Linked DNA regions of Homo sapiens: all the other regions are linked to region 1. Evidence: promoter capture Hi-C in human tissues and cell types (Jung and others, 2019). All regions are on one chromosome and are shown on one strand. Each heading gives the region's core, a stretch centred on a gene start or on the middle of the fragment in contact. The rest is flanking DNA. Distances are from core to core; before and after follow the strand shown. Region 1 holds the start of LRFN5 (leucine rich repeat and fibronectin type III domain containing 5). Region 2 overlaps LRFN5 (leucine rich repeat and fibronectin type III domain containing 5). Region 3 has its middle 180 kb from the start of LRFN5-DT. Region 4 overlaps LRFN5 (leucine rich repeat and fibronectin type III domain containing 5). Region 5 has its middle 240 kb from the start of LRFN5-DT. Region 6 overlaps LRFN5 (leucine rich repeat and fibronectin type III domain containing 5). Region 7 has its middle 200 kb from the start of LRFN5-DT.

Region 1 (3,760 bases), core at 282-2,781:
TCGGAAAGGCGGCTCCTGCCACTGCCGCCGCTGCCCGCAGGTCGCTCTGGGTGGGGGAATCGCTGCAATCGCCCCATGAAACCCGCGGCTCCGCGCCCGGGGAGCGGGCAGAGGCAGGGCGGCCGCGCACGCACACACAGACACACGCTCACACTCACACACACTCGCACCCGGGCGCGCGCGCACTTGCACTCACACTCGCACACGCACACCCAGCACTGCACGGGGAGGAAGCAGCACGGAGGGAACCGGTCCTTCTCACGATTGGCTTCGAAGCCCACCGGACCGCGGGCAGCAAAGAGAGCGTTCTCGCATAGCCCTTTAATCACGTTTCCTTCAAGTTCTCCTCCAACCCGAATCCACGTAATTCAAGAGCTGGTGACATTTTGGTGGGGAGGAGGGAGCCGAGAAAGGGCTGAGGAAGAGTCGGGGATTTTGTTAAGCAGTTTAATAAGCAATCCTCATTACCTTATTTGTTTTGTTTTGTTTTGTATAGCAAACCAGTTCGAAGGGCTGAACTTTTGGCTTCAAATGCTGTGAACCAAAACGTAAATATCCTTCTGGCCAAGAGAAGAAGGTGTAGATACACGGAAACAAGAGGGCTGCAAGACACTCTCTTGACCTTGTGATGTACCTGGAAGCAGGTTAATATTGGCGCTTTCCAAGCTTCTGGGTAAAGCGATCCACACACCTGGGTCCACAGCCCAGCAGCCGCTCCAAATCCAGCCAGGAAAATGGGTCTGGGCGTCCTCAGAGCTCTGCAAGAACCCGGGCATGAAGGGGCATCGCCGAGTTAACACATTTGCTTCTGGGCAGTTGGATAAAAGACAGTCAAATGCATCAGATAGGCGCGCGCGTACACACGCGCGCGCACACACACACGCAGCTAGCTGGAAAGCGGCTTACAAAACACTAGAGACATGCCAAGATGACTTGAAAAGGTAGCCAACATCCAGGATCTTTCCGGAACACAGAAGGGCCAGCAGGGAGGTTATCAAAGTCTTCTCAAGTCTTTCAATTCTTCCTCTCTCCTCTGAGTGTGTGTGTGTCTGTCTAGGTTTCGTTGGTCTGCCCCACCCCCGTCCAGTTGCGCTTTTTTTTTCTGATATAACGGACCGTGCAAAATGGATTATATGGGTGGGCTGTGTTCACAGCCAGAGCTCCCCAAAGTCAAGGATCCTAAGGGAGCAGCCAGCTGCTAAACAATTCACATCCTCAAGGGAAGAAGGAAAAACACGCTCAAACACACGCAAACACGCGCACACACATACATAGTCCTCCGTTCGGGCAGCTCTGCACACGCTCACCGCCTCCCTGCGCGCCGCGGAACACAGCGCCCCGCCCGCTGGCCACCGCGCTGGGGCGAGTCCGCAGTTCAGGCGCGAGGCAAGCAGCCGAGGTCCGGGGCTGCGGCCGCGGCCGGGGCGGACCCGGGAGCTGGGCTTCCCAAAGCGTCGCGTGTGGGCAACGGCGGCCTCCTGGCCGCGTGGAACTGAGCCCTGCGCTGCAGCATGAAGGCGGCGGCGGCGGCGGCGGCGGGCGCGCGGCCGTGAGCTCAGCCCGCGCTGCAGTGACGGGAGCGGCCGTGTCGGCCAGACCCCGAGAGTCCGTGAGACCCCGGCCGGGGCCGCTCCGCTGCTGTCAGCCCTCGGGCCTCCCAGCCAGACTGGTTCTGAACCGATTTATCAGGGGGTTGCGGAGAGGGCCGGCGAAGCGCCAGGAAATCCCCAGGCTGAGGAGGCGCGGGGGCGTTGCAGGAAGGGGGAAGGGAAAAGGCAGAAAACCTGGAGAATGAAAGCGAACTTCCAGGGGCGTCCCCAGCCTCCTGCAAAAGGGCAATTTGCTGATCGCCCACTTCCTCGCAGTTACGGGATAGAGAGAATCATCACTGAGTCAAGCTTCGGCTGCTTAGGGCGGTGGGAAAAGTCATTATCTATAATAACCCGCCGGAAATTTTGAGGAGAGCTACTGACTTGGGGGTTTCAGTCATCTGAGGCTGGCTTCCGCTGTCCCCTTAGTTGTGGGTGGTGATTTGCTTACTAATCAGATGGGAGCGGATTCTGAAAAGAACATTTATATTTGGGAATCAACTCAGCTCAGCATCAGACATTACGAATACTGCAGTTGGTCACATTTTACTATGTGAAGGGCAGAAAGGGAGCCCAACAGTCTTCATAAGCCAGACCTAGTCTCTAAGGTCACCGGCACAGACGCAGGGTCTAAAGCAGGAAAGAGGTGCGACTGGAAAGGAGGTTAGACAGGGCCCTGCGGGAATGGATCTGCCCGGAGCCCTCGCCTGGTTTTGCTTGAGACTCCGACAAGACTCCCAATGCTTCTCTCCCCGACCCTATCCCCACTCCCTCCATCCTGGAAAAGCCAGTGAGCAAAGTTAACTCTTTCTTCTAAGAAACCCTGAGTGAAATCTTGCTCTTCCTTTCTGCTAGAGTCCTGAAACCCTTTCGCTTCTCATTGTGGGTTCACCAGCACGTGGTCTTCGGACACTGAGAGCACCTTCGCTCTCAGCTGTGATCCTAGCTAGCCCAGACACCAGTCTGTACCCAAAGGAAGAGTAGGAAGTTGCAAAGGGAAGCTGGCTAACAAGGGCTTCTTCTGCCCTACTTGGCAAAGGCCCATACGGGTGGCCTCCGTGGATATGGAGCTCCTTCATTTTGTTCCAAAAAGAGCTCTGCCAGGCTTTACCATTGCCCTGGAGGTGCACAGGCGCCCGTATACTCGAGCACAACCATGGGCTCACCCCAAGCGCGCACACCTGCACCCACGCGTAAGGAAGAACCACACAGCTATCTCTGTCGGGGAAGAACACGAGGAGTGAAGTGCTTTAGGTGGAAACTCCTCACATCTCCTTTCTTTCCTCTGCTCCCCCTCTCTGCCCCTGGTACTCCGGATCCAATCCTTGGCTTAGGAATCCACTCAAGCCACGTCTGGCTGCTTTGTTCCAGAGGAGCGCAGCTCCGAGACTGCACTTCAGCGGTGCAGCCTCCCTCCAGGTCGGCGAGCGGCGCCAGATCCGGGACTTCAGGGTCTCCGCGGGAGCTTAGGAGGCTCAGGATCTGAGTTGGAGAGCTGGAAGGCCAAACTCCGAGCCGCTGAGGGACTGCGCAGGAAGACCACAGAAATAAACCAAAGGGACACCGCGGACAGATGTACCAGAGGACACCACTGAAGTCCAGGAGAATCTCCACCAAAACCATCAGCGTTTTCCTTGTAGCTTTCTGTCCCTCGAAGTGGAAAGTTGAGGTTTCTGAGAAGTCCACGGAGAGAACCTGCAGCAAACTGAAGCCACAGACTCCGAAGGCATAGGGAGAAAAAATGCTTCCATCCCCCTTTCACTTTAAACTTGATCGCTTCTGGGACTTCACTGGAGGGCGGTGGAGTTGCACCAACCTGGAGTACAGGCAGATCCCAGCGAGCACTTCCAAGTACTTTAGGACGTGGGGGTGACTCTTTTTTCTTCAGGATTGTCCCACTTGCCACCCTTTCCAGCTGAGCTGATAGGAACCAATGAAAGTCTAGGCGATGAGGATTTTCCGTTACCTCAGGGATCAAAGTATAAAATGTTGAATGAGAAACCCGAAGACCTTGCATCGCTGGGCTGAATAACTTGTTTTCTTTTTTATGGTGTCCAGACTGAGGTAGGGAGGGGACACACTGACCTAGCTGTAAGAAGTCAAGGGTTGGGACAAAACAAAGTTCAAATATATACTGGAATTTGTGTGTGTGTGTGTTTCAGAAACTGTGT
Region 2 (3,679 bases), core at 686-3,185, 210 kb before region 1:
AATTATTAACATGCATGTACCTGAAAACAGAGCATCTGTTTTGCAGAAACAAAAACTGATAGGATGGCAAGAAGAAATATATTAATTCATTATTATAGTTGGAGACTTCAACACCTGTTTATCAGAAATAAACAGATCCAGAAGGCAGAAAATCAGTAAGGACCTAGTTGAACTCAACAACACTATTAATCAACTGGATATAATGGACATCTGTAGACTACTTTGTTATTATTGGAATAGACTTTTTTTTAGTTCTTCAAGTGCCATCCATGCTTTTTTCGATGGATGTTTTTCCATGCTGTTCTTCTAATCTAAAATGCTCTTCTGCCCTCTCTTAACCAGCAATACTCTTTCTCTTTCTTCATACCAAAGCTTAAATGTTATTCCGTCTCAGAAGTGTTTCACAGTAAGTGTCCCAACTATTAGATTCACCACCCACCACCCAACACTAAAGATGCCGTCCAATTTGTCCATTTGTCTAACATATACCCAACAATGAAAAAGACATGTTTTGATGTTGACTGAATATGGCATTTCTGTAGGTTAGTTGTGACAAAATACAAAGTGGGGGGAGCAGTAATTAGAAGCACGAATTGTCAAGACAGGCCCAAGAAGACAAAGATTCTCTTAACCTAACAAGGCCAGGCCAGAACTAATACTCAAGAAATAAGGCCAACAGTTTATTAATAAAATAAATTGATGCTTCTTTCTACAGAATATGATTTAAGAAATAAATTCAAACTCTCTATGTCAAGAAATTAAGGAGAAAACTGGGTACTACCAGTAAATCTTTGTAAATAGGGTACACAGGAATCAAAGCACCTGCCTTCCTAATTAAACCTTAATTAAACCTATTGTTCAATTAGTATTTATTGATTGCCAGTAAAAAAGACCTTTTATAGTGAAGTGTAGCCCCTTTAAGACCAGAATAATAAGGTCATAATAAGAAAGGATTAGAAAAGTTGCTCTAAACATTGGCTTTCTAAATCCAATACCATTCAGGACATAGGCATAAGCAAAGAATTCATGACTAAAATACCAAAAGCAATTGCAACAAAAGCCAAAATTGACAAATGGGATCTAAAGAACTGAAGAGCTTCTGCACAGCAAAAGAAACTATCATCAGAGTGAACAGGCAATCTACAGAATGGAAGAAAAATTTTGCAATCTGTCCATCTGACAAAGGGCTAATATGCAGAATCTCAAGGAACTTAAACACATTTACAAGAAAAAAACAAACAGCCCCATCAAAAAGCGGGCAAAGGATATGAACAGACACTTTTCAGAAGAAGACATTTATGTGGCCAGCAAATATATGAAAAAAAGCTCATCATCACTGGTCATTAGAGAAATGCAAATCAAAACCACAATTAGATTAAAAAGTCAGGAAGCAACAGACGCTGGAGAGGTTGTGGAGAAATAGGAATGCTTTTACACTGTTGGTGGGGATGTAAATTAGTTCAACCATTGTGGAAGACAGTGTAGCGATTCCTCAAGGATCTAGAACTAGAAATATCATTTGACCCAGCCATCCCATTACTGGGTATATAGCCAAGGTTTTATAAATCATTCTACTGTAAAGACACACGCACACATATGTTTATTGTGGCACTATTCACAATAGCAAGGACTTGGAACCAACTTAAATGTCCATCAATGATAGATGGATAAGAAAATGTGGCACATATACACCATGGAATACTATGCAGCCATAAAAAAGAGTGAGTTCATGTCCTTTGTAGGGACATGGATGAAGCTGGAAACCATTGTTCTCAGCAAACTAACACAGGAACAGAAAACTAAACACCATTTGTTCTCACTCATAAGTGGGAGTTGAACAATGAGAACATATGGGCACAGGGAGGGGAACATCACACACCAGGGCCACAGGGGGTTGGGGGAAAGGGGAAGGATACCATTAGGAGAAATACCTAATGTAGATGGTGGGTTGATGGGTGTAGCATATCATCATGGCACATGTATACCTATGTGACAAGCCTGTACCCTCTGCACATGCATCCCAGAACTTAAACTGTAATAAAAAGAAAAATCAAAGGGATGAAATTGTTAATGTAATTGTTCTCTGTAGTTAGTTGAAAACAGATTTGAGTGGACTATTAACAAATGTAGTTTAGTATTCACAGTCATCTTCAAATTATCTCTGCATAATCAGTATTAGGAATACAGCCACTTCAAAGGGTGGGAAACAACTTTCCTATCTATTTCTCATCACTTTCAACCTATATTTTCTATGCAGTTAGCATCTTTTACTTATTTTCCTCAGTTGAAAGCTACCTGTGTGTGTCTTTTCTCTAGTCTGGAACGTGATGACTTCTTCAAATCACCACCCCATTCCTGGATCTAGCACAATCTAAGTTTCTTCATGAAACTTTCCATCATTACTTACACTGCCTTGTTCTCTCCTGAAATAATTTTGGTCTATACTAAATAAAATATTGCTCAGAAGGCAATCATTTAAAACATTGTTTCATCATCAATTTTATTTTTCATCATCAATTTTATTTAACAAATTTTATTGTATTAAAATCATTTTGTTCAAGCAAAGAAAAATACAAAATTTTAATTACAATCTCTTTCAAACAGATCTTTTTGAATGTTGACTCAATAATTTATATATATATATTTATTTCTACTTCTGACATGTGGCTGAAGTTACAAAAATAAAACTGCAAGTTTTCTGTGTGCCTTTGTATATATAATTGAGAATAATCTTTGTCCATCGTTGCCCAAGTATACTAAGAAGGTACTAAGGAATCAGTACCCCCAGAAGGTACTAAGAAATTAAAAATGAATGTCTTAAAACAAAGGAGCTCTGTTCTGATTAGTTTATCACAATTCCCAGGAAATAAGGGAGCTAAAATTATAATATTATTAAGATGCTAGTCTTTAAAAAAAACTCATAGAAATTCCTAGTTAAAAATCATTTTAATATATAATAAATCCAAATTCTGTAAAAAATGAAGACCTGTTTTGATCATTTTGTTTTAAAACAATCTATGTATTATTTCTCTGATATCATTTTGGAATATATACAAGTACATATGGATTTGTGTAAGGTAATAACTCAGTTTAATTTCTGTTAAATGAAAAATTGGTTCAGAGTATTTAATTAGTTTATAATAAGGTTACCTTCTGTGTAATGTCCTAGATAGTAGATATTCCATATTCACCAGAATAACTTTTCACGCTTTGTGCTGACTTTTTAAAAGATGTTATGCTATAAAGAATTACTTTGAATTATCTTATACTCCATATTTATTTCTGTAATTATTTTAAATAGATTTATTGAAATATAAATCAATAACCATACAATGTACCCTTTTAAAGTATATAATTCAAAGGGTTCTAGTGTGTTAATGTAGTTGTACAATAACCACCACAATCGATTGTTGAACATTTTCATCACGCCAAAAATGAAACCCCCAGTCCATCAGCACTCACTCCCTACTTCTCCCAAGCCTTCCCACCTGACCCAAGTCCTAAGTAAGCACTAGTTCTTCTTTCTCTGTAGATTTTTCTATTCTGGACATTTCATACCAATGGAATCTTATAATATGGAGTCTCTCTGACTGGCTCCTTTCATTAGTGTGATGAAGATTCATGCACTTTGTAGTACATATCATTACTTTATTCCTTTTTATTAATAAACAATAGTTCA
Region 3 (3,790 bases), core at 79-2,578, 190 kb after region 1:
CTTACCATATATGAATTATAAAGTACAAATTATTTGGCTAGCTTACCTGGCAAACCATAACTCCCTGGGAAGTTCTTCCTTATTGATTTTTCATGGTCATATCTTAAGTTAACTGTGTTATGAATGCTCTTTATGGGGACTGCCAAATTCCTAACCAGCATCCTGCTGATGCAATTGTTGTGGATATGGTGGTAGAGTGGGGCTGGGGGGACTGGGAGTGTTATTCTTGGTAACTTTAGGGACTAAACAACGACTGGCTTTTGCAAGCCAAGAAGGATTTTCTGTGAAAGTGATTCTTTGACAACTTAGTTTTGGGTTTATATATAACTAATAAAAGCTACAGATCTTGCCTAGATATAGGTTGAGTCTGAAGACTGTGGTTCTTTCCTTACGGACCATGCTCAGCTCCATCCCAGTCCCTCATCTCCTCTAAATTATTGGAATATCTTTGGAAACCATATGATTAAAGAGGCTCAGATGAGATGGCAACATCTTATTCCTGTCGTTGACTGCAGGCTTGTGTCCTTGTATGCCAAGATAACTGTCCTCTTCTTTCTTTTCTTAAATTTTATTTTATTTTTCCATAAGTTATTGGGGAACCAGTGGTATTTGGTTACATGAGTAAGTTCTTTAGTGGTGATTTGTGAGATCCTGGTGCACCCATCACCTGAGCAGTATACACTACACCACATTTATTGTATTTTTCCTTTGCCCCGCAACTCTTCCCCCCAAGTCCCCAAAGTCCACTGTATCATTCTTAAGCCTTTACATGCTCATAGCTTAGCTCCCACATATCAGTGAGAACATACAATGTTTGGCTTTCGATTCCTGAGTTACTTTACTTAGAATAATAATCTGCAATCTCATCCAGGTTATTGCAAATGCTGTTCATTCATTATTTTTTATGGCTGAGTAGTATTCCATCATATATATCTCACAATTTCTTTATTCACTCATTGATTGATGGACATTTGGGTTGACTCCACGATTTTGCAATTGTGAATTGTGCTACTATAAAGATGCATGTGCAAGTATCTTTTTTGAATAATGACTTCTTTTTCTCTGGGTAGATACTGTGGAGGAAAAGTTAAACATTAAATTTGAACTCAATTGAACATGGACACAAACAATGGTTACCAAGTCCTGGAACAGGTTGTGTGAGCCCCTTGAGGCTTCATCCAGCTCTGTTTCCAAGAAATCTCTACTTCAATCTATTCCTATACGTTAGTTATTGAAAAACAATAGAGAATCACAAAAAACAAGTTGACCTTTTTGTGTTCCTTGAGCTCAGTGGGGAAGGGCCCTCGTGACTGGGCCTCATGCCAAAAAACTTGTTACAAAAAGAGCTAGGGTCCCAGACTGTGCCAAAGCTTCATGAGACCTCTCCTCATCTCTGCACAGACGAGTGGCCGACTGTGGAGCCCAGGCTGTTCCTTCTGATTCTGGAGCCTAGGCTGTTGCTTCCCAATCTGGTGGTGAATCCTCCATAGTCTGGTGAGTGTAAATATCTTTTCCCTTCTCCCCTTCCTATTATAATTTGCTTATTATATCAGTCTGCTTATTGTATTAATCTGCTTATTATATCATCTGCTGATTATATCATTTTCTTATTATATCTGCTTTGCCATTACATGGGATAAAGGTTGTTTACCCTTAAACGAATTGTGTGTGCACCTTTTCCTCGCCCCACGCACATTTCTCACATGGAACAGATACCCAGTAGTAGGATTGCTGGATCAAATTGTAGTTGTATTTTTACTTCTTTAAGGACTCTCAACACTGTTTTCCATAGCAGCTGTACTAGTTTACATTCCCACCAGCAGTGTAGAAGTGTTCTATGATCGCTGCATCCATGCCAACATCTACTTTTTTTTTATTCTTTGATTATAGCCATTCTTGCAGGAGTAAGGTGGTATCACATTGTAGTTTTGATTTGCGTTTCCCTGATCATTAGCGATGTTGAGAATTTTTTCACATATTTGTTGGCCATTTGTATATCTTCTTTGGAGAACTGTCTATTCATGTCCTTAACCCTGTTCTATTCTTTCAAGGCTGCCATTAAGAAGCCTCTATCACACAGGCACATCTAGAGCTAAAGGAATAAGAAATATAATATTTATCCTTGGGAGTGATGTGTCCAGATAATAATCAGGGGTGTTTTGTTTTTTCTTTTTCTTTTTTGTTGTGGTGAATGGGTAGAATGATTAGCAGAGAATAAGTAGTCTCTGTCACAGTGTCTTAGTCTTTGTGAGTATGGCTTGATCTAGGAAGTATTTTAGAATACCAAAAAGACAGTTGTGATACATGTATTTTATATAATAGGAATAATGAAGAATAAAAAATAATAATACTTTTATTAACTGAAATTTGATTTGATTTTTGGTAGCTCAAAATCATACTCACTAATAGATACGTGGAAATAATTATTCCATGCTACCAGTTGCACAGACACGTACACTTGAACAAGCAATCAAACCGAAAGTAGGTTGGCTATCATGATATTTATTTATTTTTGTATACATTTAAGGCATACAAGCATAGTTTTATTACATGGATATATTGGGGTTTTAGTGTATGGGCTTTTAATGTAATCAGCACCTGGATAGTGTACGTTACATGCATTATGTAATTTCTCATCCCTCACCCCCTTTTTATCCTCCCACAGAATCTCCAACGACTGCTACTCCACACTATTTTGTTTTGTTTTTAAGTTAAGACAAGGTGCTGTGCCATGCTAGGATATGTACCACAATGGAAGTGTTTCTTCTTTCAGTCTGAGGTGAGCTTAGTACACAGGTATAAAACAAGCTTTGATTATTTGTAGATGATTGTTTTGACTCTGTTCCCATATAAAAAGGAATGCACAATTGACACTCAAGTTCTTTCCACTCAACATTGCTGAAATTGTTTTACTCAGAAAGATTTTTAAGTCAGGGATAATCCAATGTTGTCTCAGCTTAAACAAAATATGCATAATATATTCATGTAGAGAGTGTATCACTTTGGGCAACATTATTTTACAACAATTCTGGATATACTTTTGGGAAATATACACCAAGGAATGTAAATAAGATGTCTTATTATAAATAAACACACTACTTAATAAACTTATGAAATATTTAAAAATATGTAACAAGATGTATTTTGGTTTGGAATAGTTGATGTGTAGCCCTTCTCTCCCAATTGTCAGAAAACTAAAACGTTAGCTTTCTGTTCAGCTTAAACCTGCTTCTAGAAAACAATATATCATTATTTCAAAGTTTGCCAGACTTTGAGGTAAGCAGACAGTTCTGCAGACAACCAAGTCTGCCCTCAGTTTCAATAATTCACACTAAAGACTCACAGATCTCACAGAAAACTGTTATATTTATGGCCATGTTTATTATAGGAAAAGATACATTAAAATTAGCCAAGGGAAGAAACACAGAGCACAGAGTCTGGGAAAGTTCCAAACAGAAAGCTTTCTTTTTCTTCAGGACACGTTATGCTCCAGTATTAGTATGTGACAATTAGCATAGTACATTGCCAATCCAGGAAGCTCATACAAGCTTCAGTCTTCAGAGTTTCTATTGTGACTTCATTACTTAAGTATGATTGATTGATTATATTGTTCACATGATTGAACTCAGTCTCCCTATCCCTCCCTTCCCAGAGGTGGAATGATATAGCATGACCAAAAAGCCCAATCTAATTCTTTCCTTTGGTTAGTCTTTCTGGCATGGCCAGTCCCTACTCTAAGACTATCATGTGTGGCCAGCCCCACCCTGAGTCACTTTGTTAACATCAACTA
Region 4 (3,922 bases), core at 658-3,157, 180 kb before region 1:
AAAAGAACAGAATAATAGTGATTTTTAGGGAACAAGGGAAGACAACCCTAAGGTCTGACTGCCTGCGGGGTCAGGCAAAAAGAGCCATATTTTTCTTCTTGCAGAGAGCATATAAACAGACGTGCAAGTAGGACAGATATTGCTAAATTGTTTTCCTAGCAAGGAATATTAATATTAATACTCTGGGAAAGGAATGCATTCCTGGGGGGTGGTCTATAAACGGCCACTCTGGGAGTGTGTGTTTTATGTGGTTGAGATAAGGACTGAAATATGCTCTGGTCTCCTGCAGTACCCTCAGGCTTATTAGGGTGGGGAAAAACTCCACCCTGGTAAATTTGTGGTCAGACAAGTTCTCTGCTCTCGAACCTGTTTTCTGTTGTTTAAGATGTTTATCAAGATAATACGTGCACAGCTGAACATAGACTCTTATCAGTAGTTCTGTTTTGCCTTTCGTCCTGTTCCCTCAGAAGCATGTGATCTTTGTTCTGCTTTTTGCCCTTTGAAGCATGTGATCTTTGTACCTACTCCCTGCTTTACACCCCATCCCCTTTTGAAACCCTTAATAAAAACTTGCTGGTCTGAGACTCAGGCAGACATCATGGTCCTACCGATATGTGATGTCACCCCCGGCAGCCCAGCTGTAAAATTCCTCCCTTTGTATTCTTTCTCTTTATTTCTTAGAAGGCCAACACTTATGGAAAATAGAAAGAACATCGTTGAAATATTGGGGGCGGATTCCCCTGATAATCATGTTTGCTGCAAAAGCATAATAAATTGTTATTCAACCATAATGGATAGCCAAAGGAAAGGAACTGTATTGCTTATATGATGCTTCATATTCAAAGACTCCACAGTAATTACTTCTTAGTTCATAGTGACATTCAAAAGTCTTATCTAGCATAAATTTTCAGAATAGCCTCATCTTTGAATAAAACATAGATCATAGATATTATCTCATCTCTTGCAGCAGTATTACCTGAAAGTTGAGATTAAATAATCCTCTTAATGGAAACATAGTATCATCAAAGACACTTTTATCAGTAAAAAAGCTGAACACAGTTAATCAGTGATACTGTTAACAGGAAACATTTTTTAAAATGACATGATTGTGACAAAAACTATCAACCTAAGTACTATTCAGTCTTGAAATTTTTACTTCCCATATCAGAAATGAGTAAATATTTTAGACAAAGTTAAGGGAAATAAATGGCAGTCCACTTTGACAAAATACATCATATGGAAAAAGTTGAGTCATTGTTACCTATTACTGCCTATTAATCTTACTTTATTTTCAGACATAATTGGTCACTCCTTAGAAGCAAGTACATTCATTATGCTGAGGAGACAGGTAGATAACTATAACAGAAATCTTCTACTGATACTGACTGATCATCTGCATTTGTAGAGAAAATGATACATAGCAGATCTTTTATCACCTTGCCTCCAGGTTATTGTTGATGTATTTATTTTATAATCCATAGTATAATGAGTGTCAAAACGACAATTTCAATAAAGTTGGAATGTTTTCCAAAATACTTTTTTTAAAAAAAACACTAGGTAATCAAATTGGTATTAAGGAAAAAAATATACAGATGATCTGGGTTAATAATGTTAACATTTTTAACTCTTAAAGTCAATACCATCTTTAATCACCAAATAGCATAGCAACAAAATATATAGAGTAAAACTCTGTCATACCATGAGGACAAATAGGTAAATTGAAAATAATATGTGGATATTTTAATACACATTTCTCTGTTACTGATAGACTAAAAAGAAAAAAGACATTAAGTATATAAAGGATTTAGTCACATAATTAACAGCTGAATGTATAGTGCATAATGCCCAACAATTATAAGATAAATAGTCATATCATATGCTAAAAGCTTATTTAAAAATTGGACTGTAAACTAGTTCATAAGGCATTGTCTTAACATATTTCAATCTGGAATAAAGACCATGGTTCCCTACCAAAATGAATTAAGTTTTAAATTAGTCATAACTGTTAAAAGATAAGAAACATTCCTAAATGATCGACTGATAAATAAAGTTCTTTTTTATAAATCAGAATATGCTTTAAACTCAATGGTTATTAAATACTACATATCGATAATATGTATTGCAACTAAATCAGCCCTTAAAAAAAAAAAACAAAATTAGCCTTACATGTATATTAAAGAAGAAGAGCAAATATTAATTAGCAGAAAAAGAAAATCCACCATAGTTAGGAAAAAAACATATTAAAATAAATTATGGGAGTAACGGGAAGGAAATAGTAGCGATAAGAACTGAAATTGAATAGAAAACAAACATACCAGAGAAAATATCAACAATGTCATTAGTAGTACCTTTAAAGGACAAAATGAACAAATAGTTTATACGTCACTGGTAATATTAAGAAAAAAAATAAGACTCAAATAGGAATTCCATCCAGAATGAAAAAGAGAACACTACCACAGAAAATGCAGACATAAAATAATAATAAAGTTGTTTATGCATAAGTAAATAACAATACATTTTAAAATTTAGCTTTAAAGTACAAATTCCTAGAAAAAGTGTCTCTCGAAACTAGTTTAAATGGTAATGGAAAACCTGAATAGTCCTTTAATCATCAAAGAAGTAGAATTTATAATACCACATCTTCCACAACGAAAATTCCAGGCTCAGATGTATTCACTGTAAAACTTGAGAAAGCTTTCAAGGAATAAATGATTTAAGTTATACACTAACACTCCTAAAGACTCAGAAAAGGGGAAAGTCCCCAATGCATTTTATGAGGCAGCATAACCTTGAAAGTAGAAAAAACGATAATTACAGGAAAATCACTCATAAACTCGGATGCAAATTGTTTATGAAAATATTACGAAACCAGTCAAAAAATACATTTAAAAAATCCTACCCAATAAACATTTATCCCAGGAATGCAAAGCTAGTTAAACATTATAAAATCACTATGTTTATCTTAGCAGATACAGAAAAAATGATGGGAAAATTAAAATTAGAAAAGAACAGCACACATAATCCTAGATACAAATGAAGACTCTATAGTGAAATAGAAGTGAGTGAGAGGCTAAGATGCAGAGTGTACTTTTTGAGAGTCCCTTGGGTCTGGGAGAACAGTAAATGGAGTTTGGGACTTTCCAGGTAGAGTAGCCTTTGTAGAAATACCAGAATCTTGATTGCAATAAAAATAGGCTACTCCAAAGGGCATGTGTGCATTACAAATAAGCTAGTCCTCAAAATGACTGACATTTAGGTCTGTATTCATTCAAATTCTAGTTGGATTCAAGTGAATATCAAGCGATATCAGAGAGGAGGAAGATGCCTCCAGCTTACTTGCCATTTCTAAGCAAAGGTAAATCCTCCATGTGATCTAATCTACTAAAATATTATCCATATACTGGAATTATTTCCATAATTTTTTATATCCAATAGTTGGAACAAAATTTAAAAATAAATCAGTCAAATAAAAAGGCAACAATTGACTGCATAGATACAAGTAATGGATATAATAGCAAAAAATGTAAAAGACAAGAAAATATTTGACTTACCACTTATCAGACATGGTCTTTAAAATAAATTTAATTAATATGAGCTATAAATTAAATGGCACAATTTAGAATGCTGGAAGAAAAGTAAAACTTATTTAGAAACTTCAAACATCAATTGTCAGAACTAAAATTGTAAACTCAATAAATGAGTTTAGTAGGAAATTAGGTATTTTTAAAGAAAAATTAGAAAGTTGGAAAACAGTATAGAAGAAAAATAATTTTTCCTCAACCCTTTCAAGTTCTTAGTTGGAACAGACTTCTGTAATTCCACTTTCACACAAGAAAAACAAACAGAAGTATATTAACGTGTATATTAACACGCACATGGGAAGTACCTAAGGAATTAGTAATTCTGAAAAAGTTGTACTTGA
Region 5 (3,637 bases), core at 175-2,674, 250 kb after region 1:
GACGATCCCAGGGCCAAGGGCCCAGTACTTTCTGAGTTAGCAGCAAACTTGGTAGCAAGCAGCAAACAAGCCAGTCTTCCTCCCTCCAGGGAGCAAGACTTTACATGGTCATCATTCCCTTGTGGGCTTGAGCTACATAGTTGCCTATGTGGCTAATTACCGAACTACTTATAATTAAGAGAAGAATGTCTTGAGGGTGAGCACAGTAAGCAAAATGTGCAAAAACACTCAGGGTCTATGGTGGACCTCCCTCCAAACAGTGGTAATCGGTTTAAATTTTTTGCTTAGGCACTTAAATTGAAATATTCATCTAAAGCTTAGTTTATCACGCAATACCACCCTGGAGGAAGACTACAACATGGGTTTAAGAAACAAAGAAATGTCATAACGAAAATAATTTAGACTGCAATTTACCCTCCTCAAATTGCCTCCTCCCTCAATAGAGTTCTTAATTCTTTCTTTGTTGGCTGTTTCCCTGTTACTGTTGACACAGGTCTTTATTTAGCTTTATGTTAGTCCAGGTCCTCAGAGAAGCAAAAACCAAGAGAAAAGGAGAAATAAATTGGGAAGACTGGGATAGCCATCAGATCGCTACGCAAATCTAACACAACATAAAGGGATAAGGGAAGAAGAGAGTTTTGATGGAAAAGTCCTAGACTGAGGCATGTCTGACAAGGCCTTAAGCATTCTTTAGCCTAAGGAGCCATATGTCTCCCAGGAAATGGCCTGCTCAGTATCCTATGGAGCTTAGTAATTGGCTGGGAGCAGCACATAGAAGCGTGGTCTCTGCACAAACACAGCCGTAATCTCAGAGCAGCCTCTCATGGCCTAGGCCAGTTATGCTCCCTGTAGTTGGAGGTCTGCAAGGTACAGCCTCATGGCTGCCACAGTCTCTTTCTAAATAACATATTAATTCAGTGCTGCTTCCACTGATGAATGAAATATTCTTATATTTCTTAGAGGTTTTTCACTATTATTTGTACTTTCAATTAGCTCCAACATACATAGCTTTTGGAAAGCCATGCAGATGGAACCTTAAAGGCTGAATTTGTTGGAATATGTAATTAAGGCAGAAAAGGTCTCCTCACAGCATTAAAAAAGCATTAAAAAATAAAGTATGGTATGTTGAATGTATAAATGAATGAATAAAATTACACTGCCAGGGAAATATTATATTTTGGTACATTATGTGTCCTGTTGAAGGGGGAACATCCTGTTACAAGAAGGATGAGGGAAAGATAAGACAGGCAATGAAAATACGAACCGCAATATTGAAAATTTTAAAATACAACCTGTTTTATATATACAGTGGAATACTATTCATCCACAAAAAATGAATAAAAGCATATCTTTTGCAGAAAGATGTGCAGAACTGGAGGCCACTATCCTAACTGAAATAACTCAGAAAGTTAAATATCCATATTCTCACTTAAAAGTTGGGAGCTAAGTAATGTGTATACATAGAGTGTGAAATAATAGTCATTGGAAACTCGGAAGGGTGGGGAAGTGTGAGGAAAGTGGGGTTGAGAAATTACTTAATAGGTACAATGTACATTATTTGGGTGATGGTTACACTAAGAGCCCAGACATCACCACTATGCAATATATCCATGTAACAAAACTGTACTAAGTGCATTGTGTCTCTTAAGTTAATATAAATAAACTTTCAAGTACTTCAAAGGGCAAAACTGATCTACTTTTGAGCAAATTGACTGAAACTGAAAGTTTCAGTGTTGATGTTATTATTGTCTTGGATATAAGATTATAAAGGTTGAGTTTTTAAAAGGTATATGTATTTCATGTATATCTCACAGCATAAGCAAATGAAGTGTTTGAAATAGTTTTCTGTCTATAAAACATTTTACAGAAATATACTATTAGCATGTTTATTGTAACAAAATTTACAACTGACATAAATTAAATATAGAGCAGATTTTGTATGTTTAGCTTTGTATACAATGTGCCTCTAACCAAGAGTTTCAATTACTTAGACATCAATATCTAATTGTTGACTAAATGACTGAAAAATTCATGCGATTTTAATTTTTCTCATAAATCAATAAACTCATGATTACATATGTCAAGGATAAAGTATAATACTGTGCGTAAACCAATTTTATGATTTAAACATAATTTGTATTGGATTTGTTTACAGATATATTTGGATTTATTTTTTACATAGTAGAGTGACAGATTACTCACTAATCTGACCTTTAAATCATGTGTTTTGTGTTTTCATACTGGTGATATTTTCACATAATTGATTTGCCCATTTCAAGTAAGGATTTTAAGTAGGTTTTTGTAAGAGCTATACTAATATAGTTGAAAAGTTTTATTTATGAATTAATAGATTGTAGTAATTGATATCATGTTATTGTAGCTGAAAAAAATTGGAGATTTTAGAACATGTTCTGTCTTTCCAAAATTGTTAATATTGCCCAAGTCTCTCTGATCATTGAATGAAAGCTTTTTACAGCTTTAGGGGAAGGGCAGAGACATCCTAAAGAATGAAAGTTAGTTCAGCTTCACAATGGCTGAAAGTATAATGGTGATTACCAGAGTCTGGGGAGGGTAGGGGGAGCAGGGAAGGATTAAGAGAGGTTGATGAATGGGTACAAAAATACAGTTAGTTCAGGGGTGTCCAATATTTTGTTTTTCCTGGGCCACATTGGAAGAAAAATTGTCTTGGGCTACACATAAAATACACTAACATTAACAATTGCTGATGCCCTAAAAAAAATCACAAAAAAAAAAATCTCATAGTGTTTTAAAAAAGTTTATAAAGCTGTCCTGGGCCACATGCAGCCCATAGGCCTCATGTTGGACAAGCTTGAGTTAGATAAAAGAAATAGGTACTAGTGTTTGATAGCATAGTAGAGTGACTATAATTAACAATAATTTTTGTATATTTTGAAATAGATAGAAAATTTGGAACATTTCCAACACAAAGAAATTATAAATGTTTGAAGTGATGGATATCTGTTATCCTGATTTGATCATTACACATTGTACACATGTATCAAAATATCACCTGAACCTCATAAATATGTACAATGATAATGTATCAATAAAAAATAAAATATTTCCTTATATTTATCTTCAAAGAAAAGTACAAGGCAGAGTATTGGCTTGAAACCAAACTCATATCAGTGAGATAGAAAATAGTTCTTCCTTGAAATCCGAAAGATCCTGGAGTGAAATATTAAGTTAGAATATGGGCATCCTTAGTGAAGAGTTTATTAAGGATAATGCAAATATAGATCTATGTGGAATCTAACTTAAAAACAGCTTTCATTCCCACCCTAAAAGACCAGTCAAACCCTTGACTGTCATGGAGGAGGGGGCTGAAGAGTTTCAGAGATGAGACAATGAAAGGACTTACTTTCTGCCCATTACCTGTGAGCTGACAACCTGGACAGCTGGGAATAAAGGTCTTTATATTAGTTTTGGGAGTTTTAAAACAAAGGTGGTTTCTGCCCTGCTACCCAATGGGAATTCTGTGACAAGGATAACTGAAAAAAAGCACCGATGATAACAAGGAGTCTTAGCACTGGAATAAAACTCAGGAGAGGGCTTCAGGTAGCCCTTCTGCTGGAACCACATGCCCCCACCTATGCCCCACCTCCATCCCTATAGT
Region 6 (3,570 bases), core at 947-3,446, 220 kb before region 1:
CATGTACCAAGCATATATATAGAGATATGTGTATATACTTACAAACATAAACACACACACACATACATCTATGTAAGTATAGCATACGCTGTGTGTATATTTTACATATTGCATACATTGAGTGTTTATATTATATATCTGTGGCATGTATATATGTGTATAGTGTATATTTATGGTATGTATAGAATGTGTGTTTATGTCTATGTATGTATAAGCAAACATTACACATACAAAATTATTATACTTTACTCATTCTCCTATTCATAAAATGTGTTAGTAGTGATTAAGTTATATCTCAGTATTTAAGTTACAAGCTATCAAAGAAGAATGGTGTGACTCAGCTAGTAAAAAAATAAACATTATTAAAAGACGGGTAATGTAACACATATCCTCTTTGTATTCTTTTTTGGAGAGAAGGTTAGCATGTTTTCAATTGTATAAGGTACAGCTACATGGGCTTTCTAACTCACTTTATTCAAAATAAACAGATGATTAAGAAAATGAAATATAAATACTGAGTTTTTAAGAGTGACAAGAGTGGTGATAGACTGTATAAAGTTGTAAGCTGGAGCAATGTTTCCCAGAATTTCTAGTATAAACAGTGGTTGCCTAAAGATAAATTTCTGTGAGATGTAGAAGAAAGAAATGACGCAACAGCTACTAATCTCTGAAGGCTGTTGCAGTCAGATGAGAGAAGAGGCAACTCAGAGGAGCTGGCAGGTTGCAGCTTGTCCTGGCTTCCCTTGTTCCATGGCCAGTTCTTTCCAACTGCTGACACTGCTGACCAACAGGCCCACCAGGAGACAGAGCAGGAGCAGCCTTTCACACACATCTCTATCAACTTCCCTTTATGGTTCCCCTCTGGCAAGTCAGCATCCCCAGCTTCCCTGCAGCTCAGGTTTATCTACCTGAGCCAGCACTGCAGGAGTGCTAGTTTCTGACTCTTCTCTGACTCTCCAAGTGCTATTTCTGGACTTCATCTCCTATAATTCATTCTTTATTCTTCAAAATTTATAGTAGCTCTGCTTTCCTGATCAACACTGACTGATATAGAAGGGTGTATTTATGAAAATATGAGGTACTCTAAAGATAAATCTTTCACAATATTCAATATATCAAACAGCAGTATTGAAATCAAAGATAAAGCTGATGGGAAACATTAATAAAACCCTTTAAATATTTTATTAACAGTATTTAATAGATTGAGCTTTGACTTTTAAGGATCATATTTTTGAAAGCTAAGTTAGAATTCAAAATATATGAGTATTATTACATATGAGTATTGATCATGAAATAAGCCAGAAAGAGAAATTTTGCAATATCAAAAACAACAATAAAAAACATGAAAAGTTGTATGGGCTACATAACACTACTACAATTGAAAAAAGACAGATATAAACACAAGAAATATAAACCACAGATTTATAAGTTTATAATACAAGTTAAAATTTATAAGATTTATAATACAAGTTAAAATAATTGTATGATCTGAAATAAAATGAAATCCATAATTTAAAAATATAAGATAAATAAAGCCAAAAGTTAATTATGTATTAAGATACAATTAGAGATAAATCCAAAGCTCTAAATAGTAAGTTTATTTATGTATTAAGTAATACAATTAGAGATAAATCCAAAGCTCTAAATAGTTTCATAGTTAATAATGAACAAAATATAGATGAACTAAGCATTCAAGTAAATACATTTTAAAAAGAGACAAAGAAAATAATTTGAGAAAAGAATAAAAAGGTTGTATAAATGTTACAGCAGAAATTTAAAAAAAAAGTATTACTAAAAAAAGGTGTGGAATCAGAAAGTTCAAAAAATATTGACTTAGCAAAAAAAAGCAAATAGTTTAATTAATAAAAAGGTAAGCACACACACAAATATATAATATTTGAAATGAACAAAGGAATATAACCACTTAATGAAAGGGAATTTTATAAACAAAGATATATTTGAAGTCATTAAGAAAATAACCAGATTAATTCAGAAAAAAAAGATAAAAATCAAGAGGAACACAACCATTAATAGACCTGGATAATATGGTTTATAATTTACCTCATTCAAGATAAGGTCAATCAGATAAACAGACCACCAGACAGTGTCGACAATTTGTCTGAAATTGCTCATCTCATCATAAATTCTATTTAAAAAACTAATGTTTTCATGAAATATACTTTTAAAAATAAATCAAAAGGAAGATATGAGTTTTTTGTGGATTTGAGTACTCATGATCTCTGTGGCTCTTTTGTTAATATTGACATTTAATGTAATTATCTTCAAAAATTCATTCATGGGTTGTGGTTTTATGTTATCTGTAAGGAAATGTAACAAAATCAGTTCTATGTTCACAGAACTAATCTCTGTCTTCATAGAATGCAGAGTATAGTGGAGGTGGAGGTGACAAATATTAAACATGTAATTATGCAAATGACATATAAAGAAGAAGCAGTGTACTCTAGGATTGTGAAACTAGGAGTGATTTTATCATCAGAGAAGTAAGAAGAAGGTTTTCTGAGGAAATAAAAATTAAGCTAATAAATGAGTAATGGTTAAGTCATAAAATGTGGGAGAAGGATAAATGAAGAGAGAGGGAAGATTATTATAAGAAAAGACATTATGTGTAATATCTCATATTAGGAAAGACAGCTTTAGAACAACTGAAAAAGGATCATGAATCTGATGCCTGTTGTAAGGAAATTGCATCAGGTAAGTCTAGAGAGGTCATAAAATAAAGTCCATTGTAAGCATTTTCAACTTTAAGAAAAATGATCTAGTAGTTAATTTGAGATTGGAGAAAGTTATAACATTATTACTCAAAGTGAGAAATAGTAGTGTCCCTGACTATCACAGTGTTGACAATAGAAGCTTGAGATTTAGTGAAGAGATTTGGGAGTTAATTTTGCTGGAGAATCAATAGGACTTATTTTCTTATTAGGTTTGAATAGGTAAACAAATGGACAGTTGCCATAAAGGACTTCCAGATTTCTGACTTGAGGAATACTACATGGAGAAAAGTGGGAAAAAAGGAATAGGTTTCAGAAAACGATCATGAGTTTGGTATTAAACATGTTGATTTGGATGTGCTTGTTAAAGAAGCATTTGTTTAGTATGTAACATTTCTTCATCAACTACTTGATCTGTTTGCTTTAGGGTAGAAGTTGTGAAGAATGCAAATAAACTTGATTCTACTAGCACTACTACCCTCTCTAGCTAATCTGATGCCTACAAAATAGATGATTTGTTTGAATTTCAAATCTTGATCTGTGAATATTATTTTTTTGAGAAAACACACGTTATTAGGTTAATTAATATCCTATAATAACAGCAATAACTTAAGAAGAAGTTGTATTTAGATAATAAATGAAAGAAACTATTTTGAGTTTGAAAGGTTTTCTTCAAATCTAAAATCTAAAACGTACAGTCTGTTCTACTGACATAAAGTTTATGACTAGAAAAAGCTGAAAAAAGCTGACCTATTTCCCTTTAACTTACTTCAGTTTCATGATATAACAATACATACTTATTTTTACTGTGAACAGATATAGTCCCCTTGTGACATGAACC
Region 7 (3,379 bases), core at 361-2,860, 220 kb after region 1:
GATTTTAAAACTAAATAACACATCTTTTGTTACCAAAGGTATACAGAACAGAGTTGTCTGGTTTCAGTAGAATCTTGATGTTTTGAGACCCTTCTGTCTTTTCAAGGTGACTTTGCCTTACCAGTTTTATGATAATTCTATGTTTTAACTCTCAGAGCAATTGGAGCAATTTTACTCCCCTTATTTTAATTTTTTTGAAGGAAATATGGTAGCTCCCATATAAAAATTGCAAGTTTCTTTTGGGACACTAACACAGTAGCGTAATGAGTCCAGTTATTTCTTTTCATCTAGTGTTTGAAACCAGCAGAAGTTCGCTTGACCACCAAATGACATTACATCTCAGGTATGTTTTTTTACCGAGGAATGGTTCAGGGAAGATTGGGTGGCAAGTAAATAAGATAGAATCTAAAAAGTAAGCTGCTGGTATTCAAATCTTATATATCCAATTACTGAGGAAATACCTCAGCACCTCTCCAAACTGTGCTTCTCTTTAATTCCCACACCATGACATGGTTCAGGCCTCATTATTTCTTATGTAGATTAATACATCAACCTTCTAATTGGCATTCCCTGTCATCAGTCTTATCCCTCCTCCAATCTACCTTCCTTATGGTTACCATAGTAATCTTTCCTCAGCAGAAAATGCAATGATATCACTTCTTTGCTAAAAATTCTCCAATGCCTCTCACAGCCTGCAATATAAAGTCCAGATTCTGAACCATGTTATATAATTCCTGTCTCACATAATAACCCTGATGGGTCACTGTATAACCTCATTATACATGATTCTTGAAATTATTTAACTACTCTCAGTTTCTGGAAAGTATATTGCTTTCTTTTGCTTATTTATTTGACCTTCATACTTTTTTCAGTCACTATCTGGAATGCCCCCTTTTTCCAAGCCCTCCAGACTCATCTGTAATAACACCTCTCCCTTGTTTACACCTTTATCTTCCCTTAGGTTTACTTTTTCTGTCATAGGCCTTATCGCATGTCGTGTATTTATATGTTTATTATTTTGTCTAGTCTTATTGCAACATCTTTTTAGTAGAAGCTTTACCTTCAGCTTCAAGAGGGTGCCAAGCTTATTTTCTTTATTTATTTTGGAATTAATGAAGAGACTCATGAATATACAAGATTCTAAAAAATTTATCAAAACCACAAAATCAAAGTGGCCTCCTATATTTTGGATACTTGTATTCTCAAAAACATTCTCCTTCCTTGAGGTCCCAACAAGATGGCAGACATTAGTTAGGAGAGACTGGACTCTAGAAAGAGATAAATCCCAGTATTTCACAAGCATAATACAATAGCGTAATTCTTGTTTATTGCCACAGTCTTAGTTGGGTGGTCAAGATAAAGACATGGCTCTCCTTCATGTAGTGATCTAGGAATTCAAGTTTCTTCCATTTTGTGGTATGCCTCTACTAGGAAAAGACAATTATTTGCCTGAAGCTAGTGGAAGGGGAATGAGATGAAGAAGAAATGTGTTTGGTTTCAATAGGCCAAAAATTGGGCTACATCACTGCTAGTCGCATTTCAGTTCCACTGTGTGGGAAAGAATTCCACACAGCTGTACTTAACTGCAAATGAGGCTGCTAAATTTCTAGCTTTATGCCCAGGGATAGGAGATCAATTTTGGTGCATGGTATAGCGTCTCTCACAAGAGGACACAGTTATTACCCATATACCCTACTCCCTTGCAGTTTCCTATCCCCCTTTCTTTTAAAGTGTGTATATCAAATAGCATGAGCTTCCAACCCATGTTCTTGATCAAAGCCCAGGTTTTCCCTAATGGTTCATAGAATTCACATATTCTTATTTTGTAAGTGTTTACACTTCTTGTTTGTCGCCTATCACATCTTATTCTGAAAGTTTGCCTCAGGTTCATTTATCAATGACTTTGGATTCTCTTGTGCTGTCTTGTACCCTTTATTTGAGTGAGAATAAGGAGTGTATGACATCTTCCAAGTGATCATTAAATATGTGATACATAGTACAAAATTTTCATATAATATTTGCTATAATGAAAGAAAATTATAGCAGAGAATAGTAACCAGTTTGAACAAACATCATCACCACTATCATCACTCCTAAAAATTGTTGAGCACATCCATCTTTACTGACAACCAATTATCTAGGTCACTACTACATTTTTGTGCCCTATGAGTACCTTTTTAAGTGCTTGCTTTTCCTTGAATCCCTTTATCCTTCTAGATTTTCAAGGCAACAAACTACAAAACATCGCCATAAAACTAGAATTTATTTTCTTTAATATATAAATCAATCCAACACAATTAAGCTGTCATGCTAAGATAAGTGTACCTTGAGACATAATTATCTTCTAATATAGAATGTTGAATGGGTACAGTGAGAATGTTGAATGGTTACTGAATGACTATGTGAGGGTTTGTTTGTTTTTACTTTTTATACTATTCTTACAGTGCTAGAAGTTGAGAAGTGTTGTTCAGTCAGCAATTTTATCCAAGTGATCTGCTCTTCCTCTCTAATTTCTTTGCATTTACATTATGAAAAGGAGACCTAAATTCATTTAATACGGTGTTAGCATGACTGATATGCTTCCATTTCTCAGAGTTCTCATTATTTATCTCAAAATTCAGGAATTTCTCTTGTTCCTTGCTTTTACTGTTTACTTTTCAGCTAGTGCAACATTCCCCACTACAGACATCTACAGCTTTTGTATTGGAAGGCTTCATCTTCAAAGCAAAAGACATGGTACAAAAAATGGAAAATTAACCAAAAATAAAGAGGAAACAATCAAAGCAACCAAAATAACAAAATTGTTGGAGCTACTGTCCTTAAAATTCTATATGGTAAGAATAGAAGATTTATGGTCCATCAGTATATTATGACACATTTAGAGAAATGATTTCAAGACTATACAACACAGACATTTTCTCTCTACCGTCTAATTCAATAATATTTGGGGTTGCTGTGAGCTCCAGGAAATGGATTATCATAGACACCTCACCTCTTTGAACATCAGGATTAATTGTGCTATTCTGATATGCCCTCTTGTATGGCATTGGAGGGAAGAATACTCCCTCAAGAATATAAAAGTAGGATTTCTATTCTTTATGTAGAAACATACATGTTAAGGGTATTGTGCACACTGTGAAGCAAGAGTTATTTTTCACAGTAGAAGAAGAGAACCTGAATCACAGTCATTAAATGGCCTTAGAAAAATATTGAAAAATAGTTCTAAGTTATTCTCCCACGTTCCCCTTTGCCATGCCTATCACATTCCTTTGCTTGTTTACTTATACTTGGAGGGATTTGTGCGTGTAAATGTATGTGCATGTGTCCAACATGGATATCTGTGGCAGGGTAGCTGCTGTGGCAGTTAATAGTCTTTTGT

The links. Contacts are between HindIII fragments. The study calls those that stand out against the background at their distance.
Region 2: a contact is called between a fragment that was not itself captured here and the fragment with the promoter of LRFN5 in region 1, in 1 of the 25 tissues and cell types used here (dorsolateral prefrontal cortex).
Region 3: a contact is called between a fragment that was not itself captured here and the fragment with the promoter of LRFN5 in region 1, in 6 of the 25 tissues and cell types used here (H1 embryonic stem cells, adrenal gland, bladder and 3 more).
Region 4: a contact is called between a fragment that was not itself captured here and the fragment with the promoter of LRFN5 in region 1, in 1 of the 25 tissues and cell types used here (dorsolateral prefrontal cortex).
Region 5: a contact is called between a fragment that was not itself captured here and the fragment with the promoter of LRFN5 in region 1, in 6 of the 25 tissues and cell types used here (H1 embryonic stem cells, mesenchymal stem cells, neural progenitor cells and 3 more).
Region 6: a contact is called between a fragment that was not itself captured here and the fragment with the promoter of LRFN5 in region 1, in 2 of the 25 tissues and cell types used here (dorsolateral prefrontal cortex and mesendoderm cells).
Region 7: a fragment that was not itself captured here is called in contact with the fragment with the promoter of LRFN5 in region 1 in 2 of the 25 tissues and cell types used here (dorsolateral prefrontal cortex and mesendoderm cells).

Annotation. Positions count from the first base shown.
Region 1 is chr14:41,604,647-41,608,406 of GRCh38, reverse strand. It overlaps LRFN5 (leucine rich repeat and fibronectin type III domain containing 5), which reads right to left and starts at 1,531. Exons shown (of 6, transcript NM_152447.5): 1 at 1-1,531. The HindIII fragment of the contact is 3,229 bases long and covers 150-3,378 here.
Region 2 is chr14:41,811,570-41,815,248 of GRCh38, reverse strand. The region is part of intron 2 of LRFN5 (leucine rich repeat and fibronectin type III domain containing 5); the gene reads right to left. Among named protein-coding and RNA genes, the nearest start is that of LRFN5, 210 kb to the right of the region's middle. The HindIII fragment of the contact is 5,230 bases long and covers 1-3,679 here.
Region 3 is chr14:41,413,700-41,417,489 of GRCh38, reverse strand. No RefSeq gene overlaps it. Among named protein-coding and RNA genes, the nearest start is that of LRFN5-DT, 180 kb to the left of the region's middle. The HindIII fragment of the contact is 6,754 bases long and covers 1-3,790 here.
Region 4 is chr14:41,788,807-41,792,728 of GRCh38, reverse strand. All of the region lies in intron 2 of LRFN5 (leucine rich repeat and fibronectin type III domain containing 5), which reads right to left. Among named protein-coding and RNA genes, the nearest start is that of LRFN5, 180 kb to the right of the region's middle. The HindIII fragment of the contact is 5,559 bases long and covers 1-3,922 here.
Region 5 is chr14:41,351,641-41,355,277 of GRCh38, reverse strand. No RefSeq gene overlaps it. Among named protein-coding and RNA genes, the nearest start is that of LRFN5-DT, 240 kb to the left of the region's middle. The HindIII fragment of the contact is 3,862 bases long and covers 1-3,355 here.
Region 6 is chr14:41,828,010-41,831,579 of GRCh38, reverse strand. All of the region lies in intron 2 of LRFN5 (leucine rich repeat and fibronectin type III domain containing 5), which reads right to left. Among named protein-coding and RNA genes, the nearest start is that of LRFN5, 220 kb to the right of the region's middle. The HindIII fragment of the contact is 6,945 bases long and covers 1-3,570 here.
Region 7 is chr14:41,388,648-41,392,026 of GRCh38, reverse strand. No RefSeq gene overlaps it. Among named protein-coding and RNA genes, the nearest start is that of LRFN5-DT, 200 kb to the left of the region's middle. The HindIII fragment of the contact is 4,179 bases long and covers 1-3,379 here.